2 separate regions of the Homo sapiens genome follow, and region 2 is linked to region 1. The links are contacts of gene promoters, found by promoter capture Hi-C in human tissues and cell types (Jung and others, 2019). All regions are on one chromosome and are shown on one strand. The core of a region is centred on a gene start or on the middle of the fragment in contact, and the rest is flanking DNA. Distances in the headings are between cores, read along the strand shown. Region 1 overlaps IP6K1 (inositol hexakisphosphate kinase 1). Region 2 holds the start of CAMKV (CaM kinase like vesicle associated).

Region 1 (6,748 bases), core at 1,935-4,434:
AGGATAGGCCACTAAGTTGATGTAACCATCACTGTCCCCCTCAAAACAGACAGATACCACGCCTGTTAAAAAAAGGGCAGTTGGTAAACAAATGTCAACACAGGCCGAGTCTATGCAGCACAGACTGTTGGCACTCACTTTCCCACACAGCATGAAGACATCACCTGCCCTGAACCAACTACAGATCAATATCAGAACAACAGCCAGCAGACAGTAACTTCCAGAAAATGGATGACCGTCCATCCCCAAGCTAAATCTGATGCTTACCTTTGTTCCTGGATAAGTCTATATTTCCCCTTCTCTTATCTGGCCCTCTCACTTTCAATTACTGATTTTTTGTACCATTCAAAAGAACTGTGTTCGCTAGGTGACACCCACACCTGGCATCACTTAACCCTCTAGTTACTTAAGTGCTTTATGCTGCCATTTCCTGTGTGTGTCCTCCTTTAGATCTAGTTTCCTTCTGCCTGACAGTGTCAGCCAAAGGGACATCAACACTTCTCCCTCCAAGACGGTCCAAAAAAATCTGTGTTCTGCCCACACTGAGCATCAGGCTATCCCAGCCTCACTACACAGAACTTCCACCCCTGGCATCTCGAAGATAAAACATCCTTCTGTTTGCCGTGCTGTATCCGTAATAGTTTTTTGTGCCCATTTTAATCAAATGGGTTGTTTGTAGTGTCTTCTGGATCTTAGTGAGTTAAAACACAAATAAGACCCCTCTCAAGTGTTCTTAATACAATTTAAAAATACATATATCCAGAAACTTGAGGAGGAGGTTTTGAAGGGAAAAAAAAGTAACTTGGTCTCACTTCCACATCCCACCTTTTGTCTGTCAGCTACATTTCTGCTTTTATACTCTCAGATGTACACAGTTGGCTCTATAATCTGAAAATCAGTGAGAAGCATTTATGGTTTATTTTTTGTAGAGACAGGATCTCCCTATGTTTTGTCAATTTCTTTTATGTTGTAGAATAATTATTGGCTTAAAGTTCTTTTTTTTTTTTTTTTGAGACAGAGTCTCGCTCTGTCGCCCAGGCTGGAGTGCAGTGGCGTGATCTCGGCTCACTGCAAGCTCCGCCTCCCAGGTTCAAGCGATTCTCTTGCCTCAGCCTCCTGAGTAGCTGGGACTACAGGCACCCGCCACCATGCCTGGCTAATTTTTTTGTATTTTTAGTAGAGACGGGGTTTCACCATGTTAGCCAGGATGGTCTCATCTCCTGACCTCGTGATCCACCCGTCTCGGCCTCCCAAAGTGCTGGGATTACAGGCGTGAGCCACCAGGCCCGGCCTAAAGTTCTTTATAATATTCTTCTTCTTCTTAAGAGACAGGGTCCCATTGGAGTGCAGTGGTGCCATCATAGCTCACTACAACCTCGAACTCCTGGACTCAAGTGATCCTCCTGCCTCAGCCTCTCAAGTAGCTGGGACCTCACCTGAGATCAGGAGTTCCACACCAGCCTGGCCAACATGTCGAAACCCCATCTCTACTAAAAATACAACAGTTATCCAGACATGGTGGTGCGTGCCTATAATCCCAGCTACTCAGGAGGCTGAGGCAGGAGAATCACTTGAAGCCGGGAGACGGAGGTTGCAGTGAGCCAAGATCAGCCTGGGCAACAGAGCAACACTCCATCTCAAAAAAATAAAATAAAAATAAAATAAAATTGTGGTGTTTGGGCCAGGTTCAGTGGCTCACACTGTAATTCCAGCTCTTTGGGAGGCCAAGGCAGGACTGCTTGAACACAGGAGTTCAAGACCAGCCTGAGCAACACAGCAAGACCCTGTCTCTATAAAATATAAAAATAAAAATAAGTTGTGGTGTTCAGTCAATAGATCGATCGATAGAAACATAAAATTTGCAATTCTTTTTTTTTTTTTTTTTTTTTTGGTAGCGACAAGGCTTGCTATGTTGCCCAGTCTGGTCTGGAACTCCGGGCCTCAAACAATCCTCTTGCCTTCGCTTCCCAAAGTGCTAGGATTACTGGTGTGAGCCACCATGCCCAGCCATTTAATCATTTTTAAAGGTACAATTCAGTGGGCATTAAGTACATTGACAATACTGAATAACCACCACCATTATCTATTTCCAAAATGTTTTTCATCACCTGAAACAAAAATGCTGTACCCATTAAGCAGTAACTCCCCATTTTCCCTTCCTCCTAGCCCCAGTAACCAAATCTACTTTCTATCTCTACAGATTTGCCTATTATGCATATTTCATATAAGTGAAATCATACAATGTTTGTTCTTTTGTGTCTGGCTTAGTTCACTTAGCATAGTGTTTGCAAGGTTCATCTGTGTCACAGCATATATCAGAACTTCATTCTTTTTTATGGCTCAATAGTATTCCATTGTAAGTATATATCACATCTGTTATGTATTATCTATATTGATGGACACTTGGGTTGTTTCCACCTTTTAGCTATTATGAATGATGCTGTTGTGAACACTGGCTTACAACAATCCATTTGAATCCCTGTTTTTTCTTTTTTCTTTTTTTTTTTTTTTGAGATGGAATCTTGCTCTGTCGCCCAGGCTGGAGTGCAGTGGTGCAACCTCAGCTCACTGCAATCTCCGCCTCCCGAGGTGATTCTCCTGCCTCAGCCTCCTGAGGAGCGGGGATTACAGGTGCCTGCCACCACGCTCGGCTACTTTTTGTATTTTTTAGCAGAGACAGGGTTTTGCCATGTTAGCCAGGCTGGTCTTGAACTACTGACCTCAGGTGATCTGCCCGCCTCCCAAAGTACTAGGATTACAGGCATGAGCCACTGCACCTGGCCACAGTCCCTGTTTTCAATTGTTTTGGATATATATGTAGGAGTGGAATTGCTGGATCATATGGTTTCTGTGTTCACCTTTGGGAGGAACTGCCAAACTCTTTTCCACAGTGGCTACACCACTTTACATTTTCATCAGCAATGTTCCCATTTCTCCACATCCTTGCCAACAGTTATTTCCCTTTTTTCTTTAAACTATTATAGCCATACTAGGTAAAATAAGATACCTGGTATGAAGTGGTATCTTATTTTGGTTTTGATTTGCATTTCTTAATGACTAATCATGTTGATGTGCTACTGGCCATCTGTATGTCCTCTCTGGAAAAATCTCTATTCAAGCCCTTTGTGCAGTTTTGAAACTGGGTGATTTTTATTGCTTTCAAAACATAATCAGAAGAATACTAAATTTGGAAAAATAAATATTCTAAGGCTGCTAAATAAGAACAAAGCCAGAAATAAACACACTGCTTTCTCCAAGTGGCTAGGAAACTTTAACAGTCCCAAACACTTTATAAATGTAGCTTCAGCCACCTATCCATCCACATTCAAAACACTGAAGGCCAAACATTCTGCCATAAATATGCCAAAGCCAGAAATAAAACTATAGGCCCTGTCAGCTCATGGAGTCCTTCTGATGCTAAGGAAAAAATCCCTTAAAAGGTAAATGAGCCCTGCTTCCAGATAGGTGTTCTCTAAATTACAACCATCAGAACTGGGACAAGACAATTTAGAACTTCAAGGTGCCTCCCAGGGAAGGGTTGGCAGTCTCTAGCACTGGTTCAGTATTTCCTCACACCTTCCTCCTCTCAAACTGAGTAACAGGTATCTTTAAAGGCCATAATATGAGAGGATTGCTTGAGGTCAGGAGTTTGAGTCTGCAGTGAGCCATGACTGTACCACTGCACTCCAGCCTGGGCGACACAGCAAGACCCTGTCTCAAAATAAAAATAAAAAAATAAAAGCCACAGTAAATTCTTAGGATCTACTTTATTTTCTTTGCTTAGGCTACATTTTCACTAGGAAAGAATAAATATGCTAGCTCAAAAGTACAATTCAATTAAACTAAAATTAATCCCTTCTTTCTAAGTCAAATGAAGCCCAATTTAGTCAAAGAAAATAGAAGCATAGGCTGGGCACGGTGGCTTACGCCTGTAATCCCAGCACTTTGGGAGGCTGAGGGGGGCGGATCACGAGGTCAGGAGATTGAGACCATCCTGGCTAACACGGTGAAACCCTGTCTCTACTAAAAATACAAAAAATTAGCCGGGCGTGGTGGTACACGCCTGTAGTCCCAACTACTCGGGAGGCTGAGGCAGGAGAATGGCGTGAGCCCGGGAGGCAGAGCTTGCAGTGAGCCAAGATCGCGCCACTGCACTCCAGCCTGGGCAACAGAGTGAGACTCCATCTCAAAAAAGAAAAAGAAAAAAAAATAGAAGCATAGTGGAAGATATTATTAGTCAAATTAATCTATTTCAGGGCCAGGCATGGTGGCTCACATCTGTAATCCCAGCACATTGGGAGGCCAAGGCAGGCAGATCACTTAAGCTTAGAAGTTTGAGACCCGCCTGGGCAACATGGTGAGACCCTGTCTCTACAAAATACAAAAAAAAAGAGCCGGTGCACACCTGTGGTCCCAGCTACTCCAGAGGCTGAGGTGGGAGAATCACTTGAGCCCAGGAGGTCAAGGCTGTGGTGAGTTGAGATCGTGCCACTGCATTCCAGTCTGGGCAACAGAGTGAGACCCTGTCTCAAAATAGTATATAAATAAATAAATTGGACTAAAATTTTATATTAAAAAAACACACAGTCCAGCCACGGTGGCTCATACCTGTATCCAGGCACTTTGGGAGGCCAAGGCAAGTGGGTCACTTAAGGTCAGGAGTTCGAGACCAACCTGACCAACATGGTGAAACCCCATCTCTACTAAAAATACAAAAATTAGCCAGGAATGGTGGCAGGCACCTGTAAGTCCCAGCTACTCAGGAGGCTGAGGTCCTTGAACCCAGGAGGTAGAGGTTGCAGTGAGCCAAGTTCATACCACTGCACTCTAGCCTAGGCAATGAAGCAAGACCCTATCTCAAAACAAAAACAAAAACAAAATACACACACACACACACACACACACACACACACACACACACTTACCTTTCAGCTGGGAGCAGTGGCTCACACCTGTGATCCCAGCTACTTGGGAGGCTGAGGTATCATGCCTCATGGAGGAGGATCACTTGAGACCAGGAGTTCAAGACTAGCCCAGGCAACATAGTGAGGTCCGATCTCTTAAATCTCAGCACTATGAGAGGCCAAGGTGGGAGGATTCCTTGAGGCTAGGAGTTCAAAACTAGCCTGGGTAACAGAGCAAGACCCTGTCTCTACAAAAAACTTTAAAAATTACCTAGTTGTAGTGGCGTGCCTATAGTCCCAGCTACTCGGGGGGCTGAGGTGGGAGGATCACTTGAGCCATAGTTTTTTTTTTTTGTTTTTTTTTTTTTTTTGAGACAAGAGTTTCACTCTTGTTGCCCAGGCTGGAATGCAATGGCGTGGTCTCTGCTCACTGCAACCTCTGCCTCCCGGGTTCAAGTGATTCTTCTGCCTCAGCCTCCCAAGTAACTGGGATTATAGGCACCTGCCAGCACACCCAACTAAGTTTTGTATTTTTAGTAGAGACAGGGTTTCACCATGTTGGCGAGGCTGGTCTCGAACTCCTGACCTCAGGTGATCCGCCTGCCTCGGCCTCCCAAAGTGCTAGGATTATAGGCATGAGCCACCATGCCCGGCGGAGCCATGGTTTCGAGGCTGCAGTGAGGTATGATTGCACCACTGCACAATGCGCCACAATTATTACTGTGTTGTAATGTCTAATGGTGTGTGTAATGCCTAATGGTGTGTGCTGAATGGTATTACTGTGTTGTCTGCCTAATGGTGACTTCTATTCCCATCATTCCTTCTATATTTATTAATCAAAATAAATCAGAATTCTGGCCGGGCACGGTGGCTCACTCCTGTAATCCCAGCACTTTGGGAGGCCGAGGCAGGTGGATCACAAGGTCAGGAGATTGAGACCATCCTGGCTAACATGGTGAAACCCTGTCTCTACTAAAAATACAAAAGATTAGCCAGGCTTGGTGGCGGGAGCCTGTAGTCCCAGCTACTCGGGAGGCTGAGGCAGAAGAATGGCGTGAACCCGGGGGGCAGAGCTTGCAGTGAGGCGAGACTGCGCCACTGCACTCCAACCTGGACAACAGAGCGAGACTCCGTCTCAAAAAAAAAAAAAAAAAAAAAAAAAAAGAAATTAGAATTCTATAAGGAAGAGTTGTCCCTTCATATCCATGTATTTATCAGTATAGACTTGTGGATATTTTGTCATTTAAATTCTTCTAGATTGGGCCCTTCAATTCCTTTAAAGTTAGCTCTTCGTACTTCTGACATGATTTTTGACCACTTCTTTACTATCTGTCACCATAAGATGTTCTAGGCTTGTCTTATAATTTTCCTGCCCGAACTCAGGAACCAACCATTTCACCAAGGAGCTCTGTTTCTTTTTATTGTAAGAATGGTATTTAGAAAACTCAGGATTTGGTTACTAGATATACTGATTGCTACTGAAGTATCACTGCTTTTAGGCCCTTTCAGCACATGGAGCTAAGAAATACATGTATGATTACTAGCCCACACACATACACACATCTAATTGCTGCTATCAGCACAGGTGTTTAAGCTCAATTAAGCTAAGAAAAAGTGTCAATAATATTTCATATCTTGGCAGGTTTAAAAACAAATTTTCATTTATTTAGTATGACCAGCTACAATCATCAACTGTTAGTGCTTGCAGTACTAAATGTGAAGTTCAAGGCTTCTGTACATTTATGCAAATAAGCTTTGCCTCATTCATTTATCAAGTATTTACTGACCATCTACTAGATGCCAGGCCCTGAACTCATAAGTGTAAAAGACAAAAAAAAAAGTCC
Region 2 (6,570 bases), core at 3,671-6,170, 130 kb after region 1:
GAAATTCTCCCTCAGATTTGCCTTCAGCATTAGGGAACAAACTCTATCATTCCTTCATCTGGGTTGCTTGGGCTCAGGGAATACAAATGCATTTCATCAGCATTATTCCAGACAGGGTTTAAGCCATCTTGCGAGGCACAGCAGAGACAAAGGAGAGGCTTTGAAGATCGTCACTGACTGCATGTCTGCCACCATGGGCACAACCCTGCACTCCTCCACTGGGGAGAAGCATGTGGCCAGAATCCCATCCTCACAGCTGAGAGCAGAGGCATAGCCAGTTACCATTGCCGGCTACACATTTTCACACCATAACAGCTGCAGGAGGGGGCCTGCAACAGTCATCTCAGTCTGAGGGCCGTGTACTGGGCAGGAGGATGGTACCTTAGCCTGCAGTCTCCCAAGAAGGCTGGGAGGGACCTGTGCCCTGGCTCTGTTGCTTTGCTTACACCATTCCCTCTGGCAAGAGTGCCCTTCCCCCAAAAGCCTCCCGTCAGATTCCTATTTGTCACGGCAGAGTTATTTATAACATTAAAAAAAATTCAGCAACTACCTAAATGTCCAACAACAGGTGACTCGCCAGCTCAACTGTGTCCACTCAATGGTAGGAAGTGTGGGCACTGGCAAGAGCTCTGCCCACCTTGGCTTTCCTGTGGAGCAGCTGCCACATGAGCGAGGTGCTGAGAGCAGAACTGAATCTCTTCTTTCATTGTGATTTCTGACATTATAAGGTGGTTTGTGCAACACATTGTCCAAAACAATCCTGATGCTCGAAGGCCAGACTCAAAATGGCCCTTTTCTGAGATACCTTCCACAACCTCCATGCCCCACCCCCCACCCCACTCCAACAGCTCCCAGCTTTGCCAGTGTGGCGTGGGTGGGAGGTTTTGTGCATGCCTGTCCTTGATCCTGGCCCCAGCTTTCGGCTCTGCATATGCATTCGTGCCCACTGAGGTCCAGGGCTGGTCATGGGGGTCTGTCCCATGAAAGGCACAGAAAACTGGGCCTCCACCCCGTAATGTCAGCCTGGAGCCATGTCCTGAAGCCTCAAGGCTGAGATGGGAACAGATCTGTCTCCCCTGCCCCCTACTATGGCTGCCCAAATTTCAGCCAGTCACTCCTCCTCCTCCTCCTCCTCACCAGTCTAAGTATACTGGCTTGGGGCCCTGGACTTGGCCCCAGGGCAAAGAGAGGAGAAAGAGGGGCCTGGCTTTCAATTAGCACCTTGGTTCCCTCTGCCCACACCCACTCCACCATCTGCTATCCACTGTTGCTCCCTGGGAGGTTTCGGGTGTGTGCACCAAGCCCTGGGCACCTGCTTGCAACAAAGGAGACCTGGGAGGAACAGCCAAGGGACAGCTCTCAGAAAGAGAGGAGGCCAAGTGGAAGGGGTTTGTATTTTTCACCCCCATGGCCCAGACCCAACACCCAACAATGGAGAGCTCTCCTCTCAGCAACACAGGATCTGAGCTCTTCCTCAGGTACACTTAGGCCATGGAAGGGCATGGGAGCTCCACAACAGCCATTTCCCTGGAGACATGGCTCCCTCCACTCTCTGCAGAGGAACTGAACAGTATGCACTACCGGCTGCCCAGAGGGAGCTTGTGGGGAGTGCAGGCCCTGGTGCGGCCATTGCCCTCCAGCTGGCTCTCATGGAGCCTGAGAGCCAAGCACTCCCCAGTTATGGCCTGCTCCCAGGGCCTGACCACTGGACTCAGGGAATTGAGCCTCCAGCAATCCTGAGGGGTCCTCTGTTGGTGCCCTGGTGATAAATGGTCCCCCAGGGACTCTGCTGCATCTTTAGGTAAGTCTGGCCCAGGGAAAGCCCAAACGGGACAAAGGCCAAGAGGTCCGGAGGCCCCACATTGGGGTCCTGTCCCCTCCTCCGCTGAGATCATCCTGGTTCAGGCCCTACCTTTCATAGACATAAACAGAGTTTCCTGCTACCTTGGTCCCCTGCCACGTGGGGCTCCAGAGCTTGCAGTAAATCTAGGGAGGCCAGGAGGGGCCCAAGAGGCCTCCAGCTGCCTCCCAACAACTGTAGGCAACACCTCCTAATTTAGTGGCAGCTGTGAACACCAGCCTGCAGGCACCCCCTCCTCTCTGCTGCTCTACTCTCTCAAGGGCTGGGGCTGGGTTTCCTGCTGCAATGAACATGCTGAAGCCCAAGCCCTGCTTAACTCACAGCTGAGGTGTCACCCACAGGACCAGGGGAGCTGAAGACCTCCCTCAAGGTCTGTTAAGAACAAGGGCCAAGCTTCTAGACCACCATCCAATTGCTTCAGGGGACCGGTCAAGGGGCTGCCCTGACTGAGCCTCCGGCTCGAGCTAAATCATGGTAGAAGTTCCTACAGCTGAATTTTGCCCATCTAATGAGGGAGTATTGTGGGGAGGTCTCTCCAGTTTTGGGGGTGGGCATGCAGTCCAGTGCTACATCCCGAAAGTTTAGCTGTCAACATGCAGGCAAAGCCAAAGGCCAGCTGTCTCCTCCCAAGCACTTGGGGTCCAAATCTCTGAACCCCTGAAGGAGAATCCACTGGAGGCTCTGCTTCCCTGTGGGTGGAGGAGGGGAAATGCAGAGGAAGGCACTAGAGTAAAGGGTTGCTATGGTGATGGAAGTTTTAAAACAAGGGGAGGGGGAGGGGAGATGTGTTGGTCAGGTCCCTTCTTCAAGAATTTCCTGAGACCTTAGCCTGGCTGCTTCTTCAAGGTTCTGTGACCCAGGTCCCCATCAAGAAAGGGGAGGTGGGGAGATGGAGAGAATTTAGAAAAAAGAGAATGGGGCAGAGACACAGACAAAGACAGAACCTGTGATGGAAGAGGAGCAAGGAGATGACAAAGTAAAAGGGACACAGGCACAAAGGGCAGGAAAGGGGAGGTGGACGGGAGTTCTGAAGGGGGCGGATGGGTGCCCAGCAGAGCCCTAAGGCCTCCATGGCGATGTGCTCTAAATCCCTGGGCCAGGAGCTATCCATGGTACTGGGACCTTCGAGACTGCACCCTCCTGTATCCCCCAAACATACACTGAACTTGGTGTAGGAGGCACAGCCAAAAGGAGGCCAGCTCCTTGGAGCATGTTGGTGGGGAAGAGGCCAGCTGCTGCAGCCCCCCAGTCAGGACAGTTCCCAGCCCGTCTCTCTGCCATCACGGCAGCTTAGGTAAAGCAGGTCCAACATGTTGAAGGCAGACGCATAGGGGTATGGAAATGAGGCTCGGATGCCTGGCTGCTTCCCTTTATAGTCCCTCTTCTCAGTTGGCCCAGCTGTACTTAGACCCTCCCAGCCAACCCCTCCCCCATCTGCTATCCTTTCCAGGCTTTGGGTCCCCAGAGCCCCTCTTACAGCTCTGCTTAATCCCCTCTCACCAACCCCCAACAGCAGATCCTGCCATGAGTGCCAGAAACGGCACCACAAGCAACCCAGAAACAGGATAACCACACAGCCCTTCACCTCCCCATGCCTCAGTTTCCCCTAATGGAAACCATGGAATCTGGCCTTCTCCCAGGGCAGAGGACTGCTTGCCTGCCTGTGAATGGTGGCCAGGGCATGGGGCTGGAGAGTAGGGCCATCAGAGATATGTGAACAGCCAGCCTAGGAGAGCACCTGAAGGGTCCACACCAAATATTAGAAAAGGGAGACCCTTGCCCCACCCTGGAAACCAACCTGACTCTGAGTGGAGACACCAGTTCCCCAGTTGAGGAAACTGAGGCTCAGAAGTCGCTGGAGCTGCCAGGAATCAACTCTGAGGGTGGGGGAGGGCACCAGGTCTCTAAAGGTAGTCCTGGGGGCTCAAAGCCTGGACTTGGGGGTAAGGGGAGTACAGCACAGGGACTGGACTACTGCAGACTCTGAGCTTTTAGTGTGGGACAGAGGGCCCTGATCCTTAGGAAGGAACCTGGTGGAGCAGGATCTGCCTGGGAGGTGCGGACAAAAGCAATTTGGCAGAGCTATGCGGGGAGGGGGCTGGGGCTCAAGAGCCCAGGGTCTCTGCCAAACAGTACAAGCTGGGGAAGGCAGAAGCTCATGCTGTCACTATCCCAGCCACCTCCAGCCAGGGGCCCTGCTCCCCACCGTGCTGCCACCCTGACCCCTTTCCCAAGTGCTGCTGGCTCGCCCCCGCTGGCACAGCAACACACATGCGGAAAGCACACGTGTGAGCACCAAGCCCCGCACCTCCCAGCAGGAACATGTGCGCCCCCACCCCCACCGTGCACGTGGGTCCATGCACTGGACCCCCAGCTGGCACCCAGGTGAAGGCTTGGAAGCTGAATTTTGGCTGGGGGGCTGCTGGTCCCCAGGGGCTTGGAGCTTCCTCCCCCACCCCGCGGCAGCCCCGCCCAGCCCCCTCCGGGTTGTCGCCCATAAAGAACTCTCCGTTGTCATGGAAATTAGTGACTGCTAAGCGGGAGGGAAGGGGCCCGGGGACAGTTGGGAGGGGCTGGAGGCGGCTCTGGGAACGGGGAGGGACGGCTCAGCTCTCGGCCCCTATCCTCACGGGGGACCACGAATCTTCGAGGGTTAATCTTTTCACAATTCCGAGCCGCAGAAGCTTCCCCCCAGAACCCCCAAGCCGTCCGAGGTAATGGGGAACTTTAGCCCGACCCCGCACTCCCTCCCCCAAATCTGCAAAGCCCGCGCGCTCTGACCCCGCCAGGACCTCGAGCCCTCGCTGCGCCCCCGCGCACTCTGCATCCCGCACCTCGAGCCAGGGAAACAATCCCCCAAGGCCCCACAACCTGCGTTCGGGAAGCGCCCCCAGCCCGGCCCGCCCCGCACCTGCAGCGCCGGTTGGTCACAGGGAGGAAGTGATCGCGGGCTCAGCGGGGCGCCGAGGGCTCCGGGGACGGCGGGCAGAATCCGCTCCGAGCACGCGGGGCAGACGCGGCGCCAGATGCAGCCGCTTCGGCTAGCGAACCTCCAGCATCGCCAGCCGCTTGCCGGCACCGGATTCGCACCCCGGGCCGGGGGCGGGCTGGGGGCGGGGCCTCCCAACCGGCCCCGCCCCGACCCTGGCGGAGCCTTAAGGGCAGAATCCCACTGGAGAGCAGGAGCGCGCGGGATGGCAGCGGTGCTGGTGAGCACTGGCCTGCTTAGCCCTGGCCAAGGTTCTCAATGGCTCCCTTAGGCCCTCAGCCTGGGGCCGGAGGAGGCCTCCTATGCCCAATGTAAGGGGTGGTGAGTGGAGAGTTGGGGGAAAGCCTGAGTCCTGGAGCTGCATAGGATCGCTTGCCAGTCATTAGTCTCTAGGGAACGGGGCTTTGCCCAGCTCCCCGAACCCGACCCAAAAGGCAGGACCAACTTAGAAAAACCAGATGGGCAGTCGGGCTAGGGCAGGCTCCCCTAGCTAGGAGCAGTAAACACACAGAGGTGTGTGTTTGCAGGTAGTCAGTGTGGCATCCCCTAGCATCCCCTAGCTACGCATCCCCTAGCTAGGAGCAGTAAACACACAGAGGTGTGTGTTTGCAGGTAGTCAGTGTGAAAACAGTGAGGGCCCTAGACTGTAGTAGCAAAGTCTCCTATCCCACCCCATCCCCAACTCCTGCAAGGCCAGAGTCTTTCCCAAACATAAGTACCAGCAAGGGTGGCAGCACAGTCAGCCCCTTCCTGTGTGGCACCAAATTTCCCAAACTATAAAAGTCACCTGTGACATGGTGTGGCCTCTGCTTTCTTTTCAGTCTAATCACTGTCAAACACTTCATGAGTTGTATCACTCTAGTGGCCTGGCCTGGGATATGGGGACACAGGAGAACTGTGGCACCAAGGTATCCCACCTGGCCTGGGTGCTAATCAGAGGGAGGAGGCTCAGAACCACCAGGAGGAAGCTTTAAAGGAAGTCCTTGGCCATTTCTCTGTCCCTTGTCAGTGAGGCTCACGGACCCAAAGCCTGACCCACACCCCTCACAAGCCCTGAGGACCATCCTAAGGCCAGTATCTGAAGACCAGACTCAGGCCTCTCAGTGTCTGGAGCTGGGTTTTATCCCACCTCACTCCTCCCAGTGAGCCTCCTGACCCTGCTGTGGGAGAGGGAGTTGGGGTCATCCCCAAACCCTCAGCCATCTTGAGGCTGCCCTGGCCACCCATGGCTGATGACAGGAGGGACTGTCCAAGTCCAGAAGCTGGGGCTGGGGCTCAGACTGAAGGCTAGCTTAGGAAATGACCGCCTCAAACAAGGTTCCTCAAAATTTTCCTCCAGAGGGGGTACTGAGCCCTTCACCTTCCTCCCTGGCTTGGTGTTACCTCCTCTAGGCCAGGCTGGTGCCACTTCTGGGGTCCCTGGGCTCTGAGTGGTCTCGGGTTATGGGACCCACCCCACCACTGGGTAGGAATCTCCTGGCAGGCTGGGTATCTGCAAGGCAGAACCCGTTTCTCATCTCAGTATGCTCGGCTGATGTCTGCAGAATGAATGAATGGCCTGGCACTGAGTCCTTCCTGCCATCTGCCCACTATTCTTGAAACAATGGGTCTCTGAGTTTTATGGTGTAGCCAAGCTGTAGCTTGCTGACCCCACACATGCCACATACATGTTTTCTGTCTTTCCTGAGGGTCATGGCTATCCAGGCATGGGGGTCAATGA

What was found. Contacts are between HindIII fragments. The study calls those that stand out against the background at their distance.
Region 2: the fragment with the promoter of CAMKV here is called in contact with a fragment that was not itself captured in region 1 in 1 of the 25 tissues and cell types used here (mesenchymal stem cells).

Annotation. Positions count from the first base shown.
Region 1 is chr3:49,738,361-49,745,108 of GRCh38, forward strand. IP6K1 (inositol hexakisphosphate kinase 1) reads right to left here. Exons shown (of 6, transcript NM_153273.4): 3 at 1-62. Among named protein-coding and RNA genes, the nearest start is that of GMPPB, 18 kb to the left of the region's middle. The HindIII fragment of the contact is 4,614 bases long and covers 878-5,491 here.
Region 2 is chr3:49,864,986-49,871,555 of GRCh38, forward strand. It overlaps CAMKV (CaM kinase like vesicle associated), which reads right to left and starts at 4,921. Exons shown (of 11, transcript NM_024046.5): 1 at 4,773-4,921. RefSeq lists enhancers at 2,741-3,673, 3,674-4,605. The HindIII fragment of the contact is 8,966 bases long and covers 3,400-6,570 here.